5 separate regions of the Homo sapiens genome follow, and regions 1, 2, 3 and 5 are each linked to region 4. The links are contacts of gene promoters, found by promoter capture Hi-C in human tissues and cell types (Jung and others, 2019). All regions are on one chromosome and are shown on one strand. The core of a region is centred on a gene start or on the middle of the fragment in contact, and the rest is flanking DNA. Distances in the headings are between cores, read along the strand shown. Region 1 has its middle 19 kb from the start of KCNG2. Region 2 overlaps KCNG2 (potassium voltage-gated channel modifier subfamily G member 2). Region 3 overlaps CTDP1 (CTD phosphatase subunit 1). Region 4 holds the start of ADNP2 (ADNP homeobox 2). Region 5 overlaps CTDP1 (CTD phosphatase subunit 1).

Region 1 (2,700 bases), core at 115-2,614, 330 kb before region 4:
GAAGGATTGAGACAGCTCTAGGATGGAGGACTGTCCTGGAGGGTTGAGACAGCTCTAGGGTGGAGGACTGTCCTGGAGGACGGTGACAGCCATCGTATTGAATGGCTCCCACACAGTTGGGAAGGCAGCAGGAAATGAGGTTATCTAAAAAAATTCAAGTGGGACTTGTAGACTTCCGAGAGTGGTGGATATTTTGGGGAGTGTTGGTGGGGTCTGTGCCGTGTAGGTGAGCCTCACACTGCACAGCCGTTCACATTCGGGTGTTAGCTGTCCTCTGGGTTGGATAGCCTGGGAAAACGATATTTAATATGAAGACAGGAATGAAAAGGCTGTGCACCTGCATGCAGAGGCGAAACCTGTCTGCAGCTGTGTCTGTCTTTGGTTCTTTTTCTGCAAGTTCCCGCTCTTCTTCCTCCATGCTCCTGTCCCTTCCTGATTTGAGAAACTCCTGCCCCAGGTGGTTCTCATTTCTCCTGCTCGCCACAGCCTTGCCCTCTGTGACCTCTGGTCCGTGGCCTCCCCGTGCGGCTGGGCAGCCTCATCACTGCCGAGGCCGGGGTGGTGCTCCCTTGAGGCACGAGCATGTTGAAGCATTAGCAGCTCCAGGTCTGCCCAGAGGAGGGCAGGGGGCGTGAGCTCTTCTTCCCGGATTCCTGACTCTCCAACTCTTACATGACTAGGAGTCCACACAGCTGACAGGCCGTGCAGGGGCCGGAGGCTGAGGCCGAGGCCACGCTCTCTGCACTGGAGTCGTCGTGGTTGCCCTGCTGCCGTGCGGGGAGCCGCTGTGTGCTCCCTGTCCCTGCTGAGCCCTGAGCCCCGATGCAGAGGGAGAGGCCTGCTCCACGATCTCACGACGCCAAGTCTGTGCTCACCGGCTCCAAGAAGCACTCGCGGCCGCCTGGCCCAGGGGCTCTGATCTCAGCCTGAGTACACTGGGTCTTTCTTAAAAAGGCATCTCTGAGGAGGGAGCCTCGAATTTGCTGCTTAACCTTCTGTGTGGTTTAGTCAGACAGTGAGGGGTGGGGCGGCCCCGGACCCCCCAGTGCAAAAACAAGTGTCCAGAGATAAAGCCTCCTCAGGGCTGCAGCTCCCAGGAGCTGTCTGAGAACAGAAGGTAAAGAGAGAGAAGAAAACCTGAGGACCTTCATCAGAACAGCACACAGAGTAACAATAAGGGGTTCTTGTTCCAAAGTTCGTTGTCTTTAAAAAATCTGTTATGTGAAGTATGTCAAAGAGATCAGGTATTAAAAAAAGGTGTATGCTGAAGACAGCATAAGCTACAGATGTATGTATTTAGCTGTGGTTTTCCATTTCAGCAACAGAAAAAGATACAAATATGACACCCACGCGCATAGGAACTTAAATTTGTTTGCATATATTACATTATAAATACATATGTGCCTTTTAAAAGATTATTCCTGGACCCGGCCCCACGTGCAGCGTGCGGAGTGGTTGTTGTCTTAAGAGATCCACATCCCCCTCGGCTTGGAGGAAAACAGGATGACACGTTCCCAGCCATTCTCCCGTTCAGTCACGTGGGGTCGGTGGGCCGATCACTCGCCATGGGCTCTGAAAATACGTGTGTGGCTTAATTTCGAGTTCTCACAACTCTTGAGAAAAGTGCTGTGGGTGGGTTGCAACAGCCCACACCCCCTTCAACAGTAAAGCCCTCTGGAACAGCGCCCACGTTGCAGAATGCCTGCAGCCAGCAGCCGCCCTGCCGGCCTGGCCGAGCCCCTGGCCCCAAACGGAAGCATCTGCCTGGTCATCACCCAACGCACACCGCCCACGAGCCCCCCAGGGGCGCGCAAGGCAGTGTGGCCATCGGAAGACTCCATCATGGAGTGCACGTTGTCAGGTCCCTGCACAGACTCCAAAGCCCGGGGCCTCAGCCTCCGCCGTGGTTTAAAAGCCTTTGTCAGCCATCCTTGGGCCAATCACAGTCCTCTGCCACTGAAAACGTGTGGTTTGATGGAGAAGAAGTGATTTCCAAAGGGAGGTGCTGGTCCTATGAGAAGGGCGGTTTAGGGCAAGAAAAATAACTGACGTCACTCCCCCGCACACAGGCCCAGACTGGGAGGTCGGAGGCCGGAGGTCGGAGGGGACGCACAGGAGAGGAAATCCAAGTGGGTCTTTACAAAAGGAAGGGGTCACCTGTGCAAAGTGTGGGCGGGCCCGCCCTGACCTGGCACCAGAATCCGGAGCCAGAGGCCGTCTGGGAAGGCCAAGCACAGACACTGGCCGTGGCCTGAGAGGACTCAGCTCTGGGCACTGAAGAAGCCAGAGGATTGGGAAGGAGCACCCCAGATCCAGCCTTGGTGAGGAAGAAGCAGCGACCCCTGTGAACATCAGTGCTGGCCGGGTGCACACTGTCCGCCCTGGTCCAGCCAGGACTTTGCTTCCTGCATCTTAGACCCTGCTGACCTCACCCTCCAGAGGCTGCCCTGTGAACATCAGTGCTGGCCGGGTGCACACTGTCCGCCCTGGACCAGCCAGGACTTTGCTTCCTGCATCTTAGACCCTGCTGACCTCACCCTCCAGAGGCTGCCCTGTGAACATCAGTGCTGGCCGGGTGCACACTGTCCGCCCTGGTCCAGCCAGGACTTTGCTTCCTGCATCTTAGACCCTGCTGACCTCACCCTCCAGAGGCTGCCCTGTGAACATCAGTGCTGGCCGGGTGCACACTGTCCGCCCTGG
Region 2 (2,700 bases), core at 163-2,662, 260 kb before region 4:
CGTTCCACGGTTTTGGGGAGGCTACCACGGGGAAAACTGAGTAAAGGGTGCAAGGGTGCCCGTGTATTTTCTCTTACAACTGCATGTGAATCTGCAATTACCTCAAAATTTGATTTTGAAACTTTTTGGAGCAATTATATGCAGCTGTACTGTACATACCCTGCTTTGTGGATAAGAGTTATTAATTACCAAATTTCTATGTGTATTATAGACTTGGAGATTGTGTCCCATAAATCATAATTGAAAAATAATTGTCAATTTCTCAGTCAAAAACATGGCTAAAAATGGATCTCATTAGCAAGTTCTCTTCTGAACAGAACCAAAACCTTGCTAATTAGATCTTATATACTTCATTTTATACACGTGTGTATTTATGAAAAATAAAACCCCTTTATAATTTATGGAACTTTGGCATATAGAAAATAAAAGTGGCTGGGCGCAGTGGCTCACGCCTGTAATCCCAGCACTTTGGGAGGCCGAGGCAGGCGGATCATGAGGTCAGGAGATTGAGATCATCCTGGCTAATACAGTGAAACCCCGTCTCTACTAAAAAATACAAAGAAAAAATTAGCCAGGCGTAGTGGCGGGCCCCTGTAGTCCCAGCTACTCGGGAGGCTGAGGCAGGAGAATGGCGTGAACCCAGGAGGTGGAGCTTGCAGTGACCTGAGATGGCGCCACTGCACTCCAGCCTGGGCGAAAGAGTGAGACTCTGTCTTGGCTGGGCGCGGTGGCTCACGCCTGTAATCCCAGCACTTTGGGAGGCCGAGGCAGGTGGATCACAAGGTCAGGAGATCAAGACCATCCTGGCGAACATGGTGAAACCCTGTCTCTACTAAAAAATACAAAAAATTGGCCAGGCGTGGTGGCGGGCGCCTGTAGTCCCAGCTACTTGGGAGGCTGAGGCAGGAGAATGGCGTGAACTTGGGAGGTGGAGCTTGCAGTGAGCTGAGATCGTGTGCCACTGCAGTCCAGCCTGGGCAACAGAGCGAGACTCCGTCTCAAAAAAAAAAAAAAAAAAAAAGAGTGAGACTCTGTCTCAGAAAAAAAAAAGAAAGAAAATAAAAGTATTTCAAATCAAAATAGTTGAGACTCACATGTGAACTCATATGTGTATCAGAAAGAGATTACAGGAATGATGCTAATATTACTCATCTTTAGTTTACAACAAAAATCTCCTGAGTCATATTTTATTCAAAATTATTTATGTTTGGCTTTTTTTAACCCATGGGTGATTATAGTCTTAATTCATCTAATGTTTTTCTTGATAGGACAAGTAAGAATTGAAAAATAAAAAATTCATTGGCACACTAAATATTAGCCTGGAACTGAAGTTAGATACATTGTATTTTAGACAGTTCTCAGCTGCAGTCGTATGCTCACTGATTGGTTGAAGAAGTCATCTTGTTTAGATGGTTTTTCCAGTTGTCGCATGGCCCTGTTTGTGAACCCGTGTCACCGCCGAGGTTAACAGTTCCAGCTGAAAGGCAAAGTGTGCATCTGGATGAAGGCCCCACTGAGGAGCCTAGAATAGTCTTCCTGAAAGGTGTGTGTAGGTCGCAAGGGTCTCATTTCCTGCAAACGAACTCGTTTGGCCACAGGGCAGCCGGTGGTAAGAAGACATGGGGAAGGTAAGTGACACCTGAACCAAATTTGTGAAGATGCCAGAACAGAGGCAGGCAGCGGCTGATGAAAGCATTTATCTGCAATGGCTGGATTATCTGGCAACATCTACTGCATGACAAATGCTTTAAGTCCTGAACAGTTGGCTTCTGAGCTTCAGTGAAAAATCCTCTGAGCTTCCTCCTTGCTTTGCTCCTCCTCGGATGTCAGCCCTCCTGGCCTCGTACAAGGTCCCCCAGGTGCCTTGGGATGTGGGGCTTCTCCGTCTGGAACTGTGGACGTTTGGGGTCGGATAGCTTTGCTGGGAGCCATCCTGGGCACTGTGGGTGTTGAACAGTATCCCTGGCCTCCATGCCTCCATGCCAGGAGCATCCCCAGTCAAGACAATCAAAACCTGGACATTGCCAGGTGCCCCGTGGGAACTGAGGGTCGCAGTGGATCCCAGTCGAGAAGCCCTGGTCTGGAAACCACGCTAAGCGATCTTTACCCGGCAGTGCGGACCACGCTCCCTGTGGAAGCCTTGGTGGGTCTTGCTCATGTAGATTAACAGCCCCACTAACTGCAAAGCACCCGCCCCATGAGCCCTCATCCATGTATGTAATAAGCATGTACAGAGATTCTAATTTTAACTCAGAATGGTAAATATTATTATATCCCAGTGACTTCTCCTTATTGATTACATTTGAAAAATCCTGATACTCTGGGTAGTGGCAGTTGCAGCTTTTCCCGGTGACACACACTCATGTTGCATGTAGAACCGCACTTGCTCTGGCATCCTGGAGGCTGGCACCTGGCTTGCTGGCGGCAGTGGGGCCACGTGTCCCCTGGGCCGGGCTCATGATCAGGGATGGTGGTGACACAATGCCCGAGGCACTAAACTTGTGGTCCAGTTAAGCCACAATTTAATTTAAACTGCTTGAGAGTCCATTTCATTTATGTATGTGTATTTAGCCAGATTTAAACAAAATAGTCACTGTTTTCCTTGGGACTGAAGGAGTGGATTGGCAGGGGGGAATCCTGGGCAAACAGGGAGTGAGGGATGGGGTGCGGTGCATGGACCCTGACCTGGGGCCCTGAGCA
Region 3 (2,700 bases), core at 115-2,614, 360 kb before region 4:
GCAAACCCGCCACCCATTCTATCCAAAGCCACCTTCTGCTCACTGAGACAGGTGCAGATCTGATGGCCTCCTTTGGAGAGGCTGATCAGAAACTCAGGAGGATGCAGCCATTTGTCTCTTGTCTACCTGTGACCTGGAAGTCCCTCCCTGGTTCCAGCTGTCCCACCTTTCCAGAGTGAACCAGTGTTCATCTTACATATGTTCTTTCATGTCTCATGTCTCCCTAAAATGTGTAAAACAGAGCCGTGCCCCGACCACCTCAGGCACATGTCAGGCCCTCCTGAGGCCGTGTCACAGGCAGGTGACCCCAACCTTGGCAAAATAAACTTTTTAAGTTAAGTGAGACCTGACACAGATACTTGGAGTTCACAAAAGGAACCAAAATGTTACATTAGACAGTATTCACTTAATGCAAAAGAAAACAGAAAAGGGAAGACAGGAACTAAAACTACATGAGGCATGAGAAACAAAGCAGAGTGGCGGTGTGAACGTGAGGGGATTCAGAGCTTTAACTATGAGTGGATGGACAACTGGGTCAGAGGCCATCACCGTAGGAAAGCTGGAGTGTTCCGCTAATATCAGAGAAGACTGAATTTAAACAAAGAATGCTTCTACAGGTAAAGAAGGACGCTTTATAATGATAACGGATGGAATTACGATGCTAAGAGCTGGATCCATCGGGAAGAGTGACAGTTGCTAGCACATGTGCACCGGAAGTGAGAACCAACTCACCAGTGGCAGAAACTGACAAGCAAAGGGAGAGGCGGCCATGGCGAGACCTTGGAGGTTCCCCCGCCACTCAGTCATGGGGGGCGTCGTGGGAGGATGCTGCCCCTGGAGGGGCCACAGACCAGTCCTGAAGCTCTTACAGGAACGCAGGAGACCCTGGAGGGTCTTGAGGAAGAGCAGGCCAGAGGACGCACATCGTGCTTCAGAGTAACGGAGGCTGGTGTGATGACAGTGTGCTGGGCCGTGGAGCAGGAGTGTCCATCCCAGAACAGCCCCATGTCCATGGCCAGCTGGCTCTCAGCAGGGGTACCAGGCCACTCCATGGGAAAGACTTGTGGGTCCTGAGAGTGGGGTGGGGAATCAGAAGGTGCTCCTGGGATTAGGAGGTGTCCCCACGACATGTAAGTTCATGTGAGTTTCAGGCTTTTCCAAAGCAGTTGTAATGACTGTGGCATGGATAATTTTTGTGGGGAAGATGAGTGGTCAGCACACATACGTGTTTGACTGGATTGTGCGTCCCTCCCATGCGCGTTCTGTCCCTGCGTCCCTCCCGTGCGCGTTCTGTCCCTGCGTCCCTCCCGTGCGCGTTCTGTCCCTGCGTCCCTCCCGTGCGCGTTCTGTGCCCGCGTCCCTCCCGTGCGCGTTCTGTGCCCGCGTCCCTCCCGTGCGCGTTCTGTCCCCGCGTCCCTCCCGTGCGCGTTCTGTCCCCGCGTCCCTCCCGTGCGCGTTCTGTCCCCGCGTCCCTCCCGTGCGCGTTCTGTCCCCGCGTCCCTCCCGTGCGCGTTCTGTCCCCGCGTCCCTCCCGTGCGGGTTCTGTCCCCGCGTCCCTCCCGTGCGCGTTCTGTCCCCGCGTCCCTCCCGTGCGCGTTCTGTGCCCGCGTCCCTCCCGTGCGCGTTCTGTGCCCGCGTCCCTCCCGTGCGCGTTCTGTGCCCGCGTCCCTCCCGTGCGCGTTCTGTGCCCGCGTCCCTCCCGTGCGCGTTCTGTGCCCGCGTCCCTCCCGTGCGCGTTCTGTGCCCGCGTCCCTCCCGTGCGCGTTCTGTCCCCGCGTCCCTCCCGTGCGCGTTCTGTCCCCGCGTCCCTCCCGTGCGCGTTCTGTCCCCGCGTCCCTCCCGTGCGCGTTCTGTCCCCGCGTCCCTCCCGTGCGGGTTCTGTCCCCGCGTCCCTCCCGTGCGCGTTCTGTCCCCGCGTCCCTCCCGTGCGCGTTCTGTGCCCGCGTCCCTCCCGTGCGCGTTCTGTGCCCGCGTCCCTCCCGTGCGCGTTCTGTGCCCGCGTCCCTCCCGTGCGCGTTCTGTGCCCGCGTCCCTCCCGTGCGCGTTCTGTGCCCGCGTCCCTCCCGTGCGCGTTCTGTGCCCGCGTCCCTCCCGTGCGCGTTCTGTCCCCGCGTCCCTCCCGTGCGCGTTCTGTCCCCGCGTCCCTCCCGTGCGCGTTCTGTCCCCGCGTCCCTCCCGTGCGCGTTCTGTCCCCGCGTCCCTCCCGTGCGGGTTCTGTCCCCGCGTCCCTCCCGTGCGCGTTCTGACCCCGCGTCCCTCCCGTGCGCGTTCTGTGCCCGCGTCCCTCCCGTGCGCGTTCTGTCCCTGCGTCCCTCCCGTGCGCGTTCTGTCCCCGCGTCCCTCCCGTGCGCGTTCTGACCCTGCGTCCCTCCCATGCGCGTTCTGTCCGTGCGTCCCTCCCATGCGTGTTCTGACTCTGCGGTCTCTTCAGGGTTTGCCACTCGAGGGTGTCGGAGGTGGAGGTTGTGTTCGTTCTCCCTTCACATAGCACGCGGAGTTTTGGTTTGTGAAAGTTTGCTTTTTCGTGTTTTCATAGCTACACAAACTGCATCTCTTGGAAAAGTGAGAGCGTTTTGACAACTGCTGTCACTGTGAACAGGTCAGGAGGCCCTGCCTTGCCCACCCCATACTTAGGGGCTTAAGAAACAAGGTCTCACTCTGTTGCCTGGGCTGGAGTGCAGTGGCACGATCATGGCTCAC
Region 4 (2,700 bases), core at 41-2,540:
TTAACACAGTTTTAAAACGAATATGGACATTAATTTAGTGCCTATTATGTGTTTAGTCACTGGGCTAAACTGAGCAGAAGGCTCCCATTGAGAGGGAAAAGCTGAAATTATGGACGAGCGGATGGTGACAAGGAGGCTCTGGAGAGGGCGGTGGGCGGAAGGCCCAGCCTGGGCACGGCCTCTGCCCCGCGGTGGCTGGAGTGGGCCTCAGGGCTGGAGGCTGGCGGCGGGTTGCAGGGGCTCGGCGCTCTGGAAGGAGACGTGGCCTTGTGCTGAAAGGGGCACGTGTCCTGCAGACGGCTTCGCCAAGAAGGAACTGCCTGGAACAGCCACTGAGGGCGCGGCTGAGTTAGGGTCAGGGGAAGGAACACTGGAGGGGAGTTAGGGTCAGAGTCAGGGTTAGTGCTAGGTGAGGTTCAGGTGCAGGGTCAGAATTAGGGTTAAGGTTAGGGGCACTGGGGGAGGCGCCTGCGCTGCCCTCGTGGTTACTCCCACGTGCTCTGGGGCACGAGGGCGTCCGCCAGAGGCCTGGGGACTCCACGGAACGAAGACCTAGAGCCATTTTGAAAGCCCTACGCCATGTTTCCACTAATTTTGTGGAATAAATTATTATTGCTACACAATTGATAAACACCTGTGCAAAAATGAACTTTTAGGTTAAGAGTTTATACAAATGTATGCAATTAACCCTCTCCCCACACAACTTGTAGTAGATCTAAAAATCAGAATTCTCAAGAGAAGGTGTGATCACTTTCCCACAGGAATGATGAAGTCAGGAGACCCCAGCTAGTCGGTTCACCAGGATATGCCAATCATGGCACACTTGTCCCAGTTCTGGGAGCCAAAGTTTTGTCTTCCAATGGCAAGGCAGCATTATCACAGTTGGGCTCCCATTGGCTCTGAGATGTGGGCGGGGTCACCACTCCTGGAGCTGCCACTAGCTCCACCCCATTCCATGCAAATGAAGTCAAAGCTGTGGTGAGTCCACGTGATTAGTCACATGGTTGATGACACACTCTCCCCACCCCTTTAGTGACGTCATTGCCCACTCAAACTCTCACGAGAGTTTGCACAGATGTGGAAAGGAGCTGGCAGGGCAGTTCCCTGGGACAGAAGGGAGTCAGGGGGTCCAACAGGGGCCCCCCACTGCCACCCCAGAGCCTCCAGTCCATCTTTAGCCAGGGGCCCCGGGGGGCCTGTGGGAAGTGCCAGGGGCCCCCAAGCACACTCTGCTCTCATTGGCTGGCTGCGCCTACATGCAAATGAGGGCCAACGTCACTTCCTGAGGCCAATCGAGCGCCATTTTCTCTTTCTGGCTGCGCGGGAGGAGGGGACCAGTCGCGCTGGGGGTGGGCGCGCGCTGAGGCGGGGGTCCCGCCGCGCGGGGCGGAGGCGCGGGCGGGCGCAGGCGGCCCCACGGGACGCGGCTGCGCTCGGCGGAAGACGCGGCAGCCCTGCGAGAGGCAGCAGCGGAGACGCGGTGCTCCTCGGGCGCCAAGCGGTAGGTACGGCCCGGCCCGGCGCGGGCCCGCGCGGCGACGCCCCCTGCCCCGGTCCTGGCCCCCGCCCCAGTCTGGTCCCCTCCGAGCCCCGCCCCCGCCGGTACCCAGCCCACACCCACGCCCGCCGCCTGCCCTCGCGCCGCCCGTGGCCGCCTCGGGAATCCCGGGACGTTCTCAGGGCGCGGGTTCGCGGCCCGAACGGCGCCCGTCGACCCCCGACGCGCCCGCGGCCCGCCCCGCCCGCCGCCGGTCACGTGGGAGCGGGGGCCGCCCCGGGAGGGCGGAGAAGGGGATGGGGACCTGAGGGGAGAGTAGGAATAGGGGAAAGACGAGGACGGGGACCGAGGGAGAGAGGGGGGCTGGTGAAGGGAGCGAGGAGTAGAGGGAGAGGGAACGGGGATGGAGAAGAAGAGAGGGGGCAAGGAGCTGTGGCGACCCCTGTAAGGACTCCAGAAACGCCCCGCCCGCTGGCCCGCCCGCCGCATCCCCGAGACCGGGTTCTCCTGGAAGCTTCTCTCTGGAGGAGCCTTGAGTGACGGCAGATGTAGGTCAGGAGCTGACGGTGACACCTAAATCTGCCCAGGTTTTTTTTTCCCTAGAAAGGTTTGAAGAACAGCTGATAACGGGGCCCTGTTTCTTCATCGTTGAGCTTTTGATGCGAATATCAATAATTGATATACAGATGTTGACTTTAACATTACTTTTCATCTGCCGTTGCTGGTTGCATTGAAATAGATTCCGTTTACAAAATTTCTACTACAGTTGACTTTGGAATGTTAATTTTAACTGCCCTTTTAAATACTGTACAGATGCAGAATGAGAAATAATTAGATATTTTAAGTAGTTTATTTGAACAGAAGACTTGCCTGCGTGCTTAAAACTTACTCTATTTGCACGGGTAATCACTGCCTCTTGGGATCTTGAGGAATATACTGGCTGTGGAGGAGTGGGGTGGGGGAGGAGAAACTGGTAAGCAGGTAACTGACAATGCAGATTGGCAAGTGGGGCAGCAGTTTGTAGAGTACTGTGGGCATCTGCCACGCAGAGCCTTTATCAAAAGAGGGGGTTTGGAGTCTGGGTACCATTTTTGGGGGTGAGGAGCATTAGTGGGAGAGAGGACCACATGTAAAAAGAGTTGTGTAAAGTACATGTTCAGCTGTATTTGGAAGTCGGTAATGTATGTGTAACTTATTTAAAG
Region 5 (2,799 bases), core at 212-2,711, 420 kb before region 4:
AGAGCCTGCACTAGAATAAGACAGTCAGAACCTTTCAACCGCAGTACAGAAAATTACGTGACTCCGACGTGGCCAGTATGCGAGTGATTTTCTACGAAGGCCTGTGTTTGGTCACGTTGCTGGAAGCCTGCGGAGTGCTGCCTGCGTGCACTGGGCGCAGGTGCCCTTGGCGTCAGGAGCCGGCCTTGTCTCTGCCACCGGGACCTTGCGTGGTTGCCATTTCCAGCCCTCACCTGCTTCCTACTCGTCTGTCAAGACCCAGCTGTTACAGCTGCTGTGACACTGTTCTAGAAGCTTCCTTCCTCGTGTAGAACTAGGCATCTGCTGTAGTCATCTGCCGGTGGCACCTCCGTCTTGCAGTCGCTCTCGTCTGACTCGTATTACACTGTTGGTGACAGCAGGCAGTGCGCACCCGACTCAGCTTATAGTCAACTTTCTTCAGACCTCAGGCTGCGCTGGTGGCCCAAGGGAGGCTGTTTGTGGGAAGCAGGGCCAGCTTACACTCGCTCTTAGACCTGTGCTGGGGAAGGCAGGTGGCACCTGGGCTTGCTACCAGCCCTTCCTTGGAGCAGGAGGCCCCCGTCCTTTGTGGCAGCCTAGTGTCAATGTGCGACGGGTCACACAGCTTCCCAGGCAGGACTCGGGCTGGGGAACAGTGGACAGCTCCCAGGGTGGACTCGGGGTGGGGAGGAGTGGACGGCTCCCAGGGTGGACTCGGGGTGGGGGAGGAGTGGACGGCTCCCAGGGTGGACTCGGGGTGGGGGAGGAGTGGACGGCTCCCAGGGTGGACTCGGGGTGGGGAGGAGTGGACGGCTCCCAGGGTGGACTCGGGGTGGGGAGGAGTGGACGGCTCCCAGGGTGGACTCGGGGTGGGGGAGGAGTGGACGGCTCCCAGGGTGGACTCGGGGTGGGGGAGGAGTGGACGGCTCCCAGGGTGGACTCGGGGTGGGGAGGAGTGGACGGCTCCCAGGGTGGACTCGGGGTGGGAGAAGAGTGGACGGCTCCCAGGGTGGACTCGGGGTGGGGAGGAGTGGACGGCTCCCAGGGTGGACTCGGGGTGGGGGAGGAGTGGACGGCTCCCAGGGTGGACTTGGGGTGGGGGAGGAGTGGACGGCTCCCAGGGTGGACTCGGGGTGGGGGAGGAGTGGACGGCTCCCAGGGTGGACTCGGGGTGGGGGAGGAGTGGACGGCTCCCAGGGTGGACTCGGGGTGGGGAGGAGTGGACGGCTCCCAGGGTGGACTCGGGGTGGGGAGGAGTGGACGGCTCCCAGGGTGGACTCGGGGTGGGAGAAGAGTGGACGGCTCCCAGGGTGGACTCGGGGTGGGGAGGAGTGGACGGCTCCCAGGGTGGACTCCGGGTGGGGAACAGTGGAGAAAACCTTTGCAGAACACACTCTGCAGGCGTTTGTCAGCCGTTGATCCATTTGTGTGAAGCCCCACTGGCTGGAAGGTGCCCCCCGCCCGCCATGGAGTTTTCTGGGCACCTTGGTGGGTCGTCTGTCGGTCATACCTTTGAGTCTTTCTGGACTCCTCTGTTCCATGCGTTTATGTTGTATGCCTGATAAGTTCTGAAGTCAGGTAGTAAAAGTTCTCTGTTATTTTTGAAAATTGAGATTCTAGGTTTTCTGAACTTCCATATAAATTTCAGAAGCAACTTGTCAATTTCTACAAAAAAACACCTGTTTATTGGTTAAACTAGAGCCACCCCAGATCCTTCTTCATGTTAACATGTTTAGGAGAGATTGGCAAAATCCTCCTAGTTCATATTTGAGGATTCCTTTCCCTCTCTTCCCCTTGCAGGGGGTAGAGCAAGGAGGAGCCCGCGGTGAGCTGGTGTCTTGCATGGGGCAGGGGGTAGAGCGAGGAGCCCGCCGTGAGCTGGTGTCCTGCGTGGGGCAGAGGGTAGAGCAAGGAACCCGCCGTGAGCTGGTGTCCTGTGTGGGGCAGGGGGTAGAATGAGGAGCCTGCCATGAGCTGGTGTCCTGTGTGGGGCAGGAGCTGTGCAGAGTTTCCTTGCAGAAGGCTGATTGCAAAATGATGTCAGCTGGAGACCAGGGAAGCCTGTTAGAGGGGCTGGGGCTCCCAAGTGGGGTTGCTGCCAGGACTGGGGGAGCAGTGCCCAGGGAAAGGACGTGGGGCCATTGGGAGGACTGGGTTTGGGTGTTGGCGGTGGGGCCGCAGAGCCCTGTGGATGGACGAAAACAGCTCAGCCGGGGAGTTGGGGGCTGCCAGGCATCGGAGAGGAGCCTGGATGTGGAGGCCCCGAGTGCGATGGCGGTAGGGACACAGACTCCTGGGCGGGGATGGCCCCTGTGGCCTCAGCAAGCAGGGAGCAGGTGTCCCTGAGGCCTGTGAAGCCTGGCAGTGTCTTTGAGCAGGTGTGGTGACCGGGAGGGAGGATGGTCCAGTGTGGGGTTTGTGCGTTTTTTTTGTTTTTGTTTTTGTTTTTTTTCAGAGATTGGGTTTTTAGGTTAAGTCTCTGCTCATTGGGGCATTTTAGGGCAGAACTCTAATCATTCATTGTAAAGTATTTTGATAAAATTAAGGAAATCATACTTGTCACCTTAGAAAGTTTAACACACTTTTTCAAACAAGGTGTCACTATTTTGTTGTCTGGTTTAAGAAAAAAACCTGATACAGGTTGAGTCTCCCATATCCAAACTGCTTGGAAACAGAAGTGTTTTGGATTTCTGGGTTTTTTTGGATTTTGGAATATTTGCACGTATACATGACGAGATGTCTTGGGGATGGGACGTGAGTAAACGCGGAATCCATTTGTGTTGCACATGCACTGTGTAC

The links. Contacts are between HindIII fragments. The study calls those that stand out against the background at their distance.
Region 1: a fragment that was not itself captured here is called in contact with the fragment with the promoter of ADNP2 in region 4 in 2 of the 25 tissues and cell types used here (dorsolateral prefrontal cortex and lymphoblastoid cells).
Region 2: a fragment that was not itself captured here is called in contact with the fragment with the promoter of ADNP2 in region 4 in 2 of the 25 tissues and cell types used here (IMR-90 fibroblasts and lymphoblastoid cells).
Region 3: a fragment that was not itself captured here is called in contact with the fragment with the promoter of ADNP2 in region 4 in 3 of the 25 tissues and cell types used here (H1 embryonic stem cells, IMR-90 fibroblasts and lymphoblastoid cells).
Region 5: a contact is called between a fragment that was not itself captured here and the fragment with the promoter of ADNP2 in region 4, in 2 of the 25 tissues and cell types used here (lymphoblastoid cells and spleen).

What each region holds. Positions count from the first base shown.
Region 1 is chr18:79,777,801-79,780,500 of GRCh38, forward strand. No RefSeq gene overlaps it. Among named protein-coding and RNA genes, the nearest start is that of KCNG2, 19 kb to the right of the region's middle. The HindIII fragment of the contact is 6,456 bases long and covers 1-2,700 here.
Region 2 is chr18:79,845,375-79,848,074 of GRCh38, forward strand. The region is part of intron 1 of KCNG2 (potassium voltage-gated channel modifier subfamily G member 2); the gene reads left to right. Among named protein-coding and RNA genes, the nearest start is that of KCNG2, 49 kb to the left of the region's middle. The HindIII fragment of the contact is 7,338 bases long and covers 1-2,700 here.
Region 3 is chr18:79,743,993-79,746,692 of GRCh38, forward strand. All of the region lies in intron 12 of CTDP1 (CTD phosphatase subunit 1), which reads left to right. Among named protein-coding and RNA genes, the nearest start is that of KCNG2, 53 kb to the right of the region's middle. The HindIII fragment of the contact is 5,894 bases long and covers 1-2,700 here.
Region 4 is chr18:80,107,972-80,110,671 of GRCh38, forward strand. It overlaps ADNP2 (ADNP homeobox 2), which reads left to right and starts at 1,291. Exons shown (of 4, transcript NM_014913.4): 1 at 1,291-1,501. RefSeq lists enhancers at 1-215, 1,042-1,543 and silencers at 1,353-1,512, 1,713-1,812. The HindIII fragment of the contact is 8,526 bases long and covers 1-2,700 here.
Region 5 is chr18:79,690,822-79,693,620 of GRCh38, forward strand. All of the region lies in intron 1 of CTDP1 (CTD phosphatase subunit 1), which reads left to right. Among named protein-coding and RNA genes, the nearest start is that of CTDP1, 12 kb to the left of the region's middle. The HindIII fragment of the contact is 5,479 bases long and covers 1-2,799 here.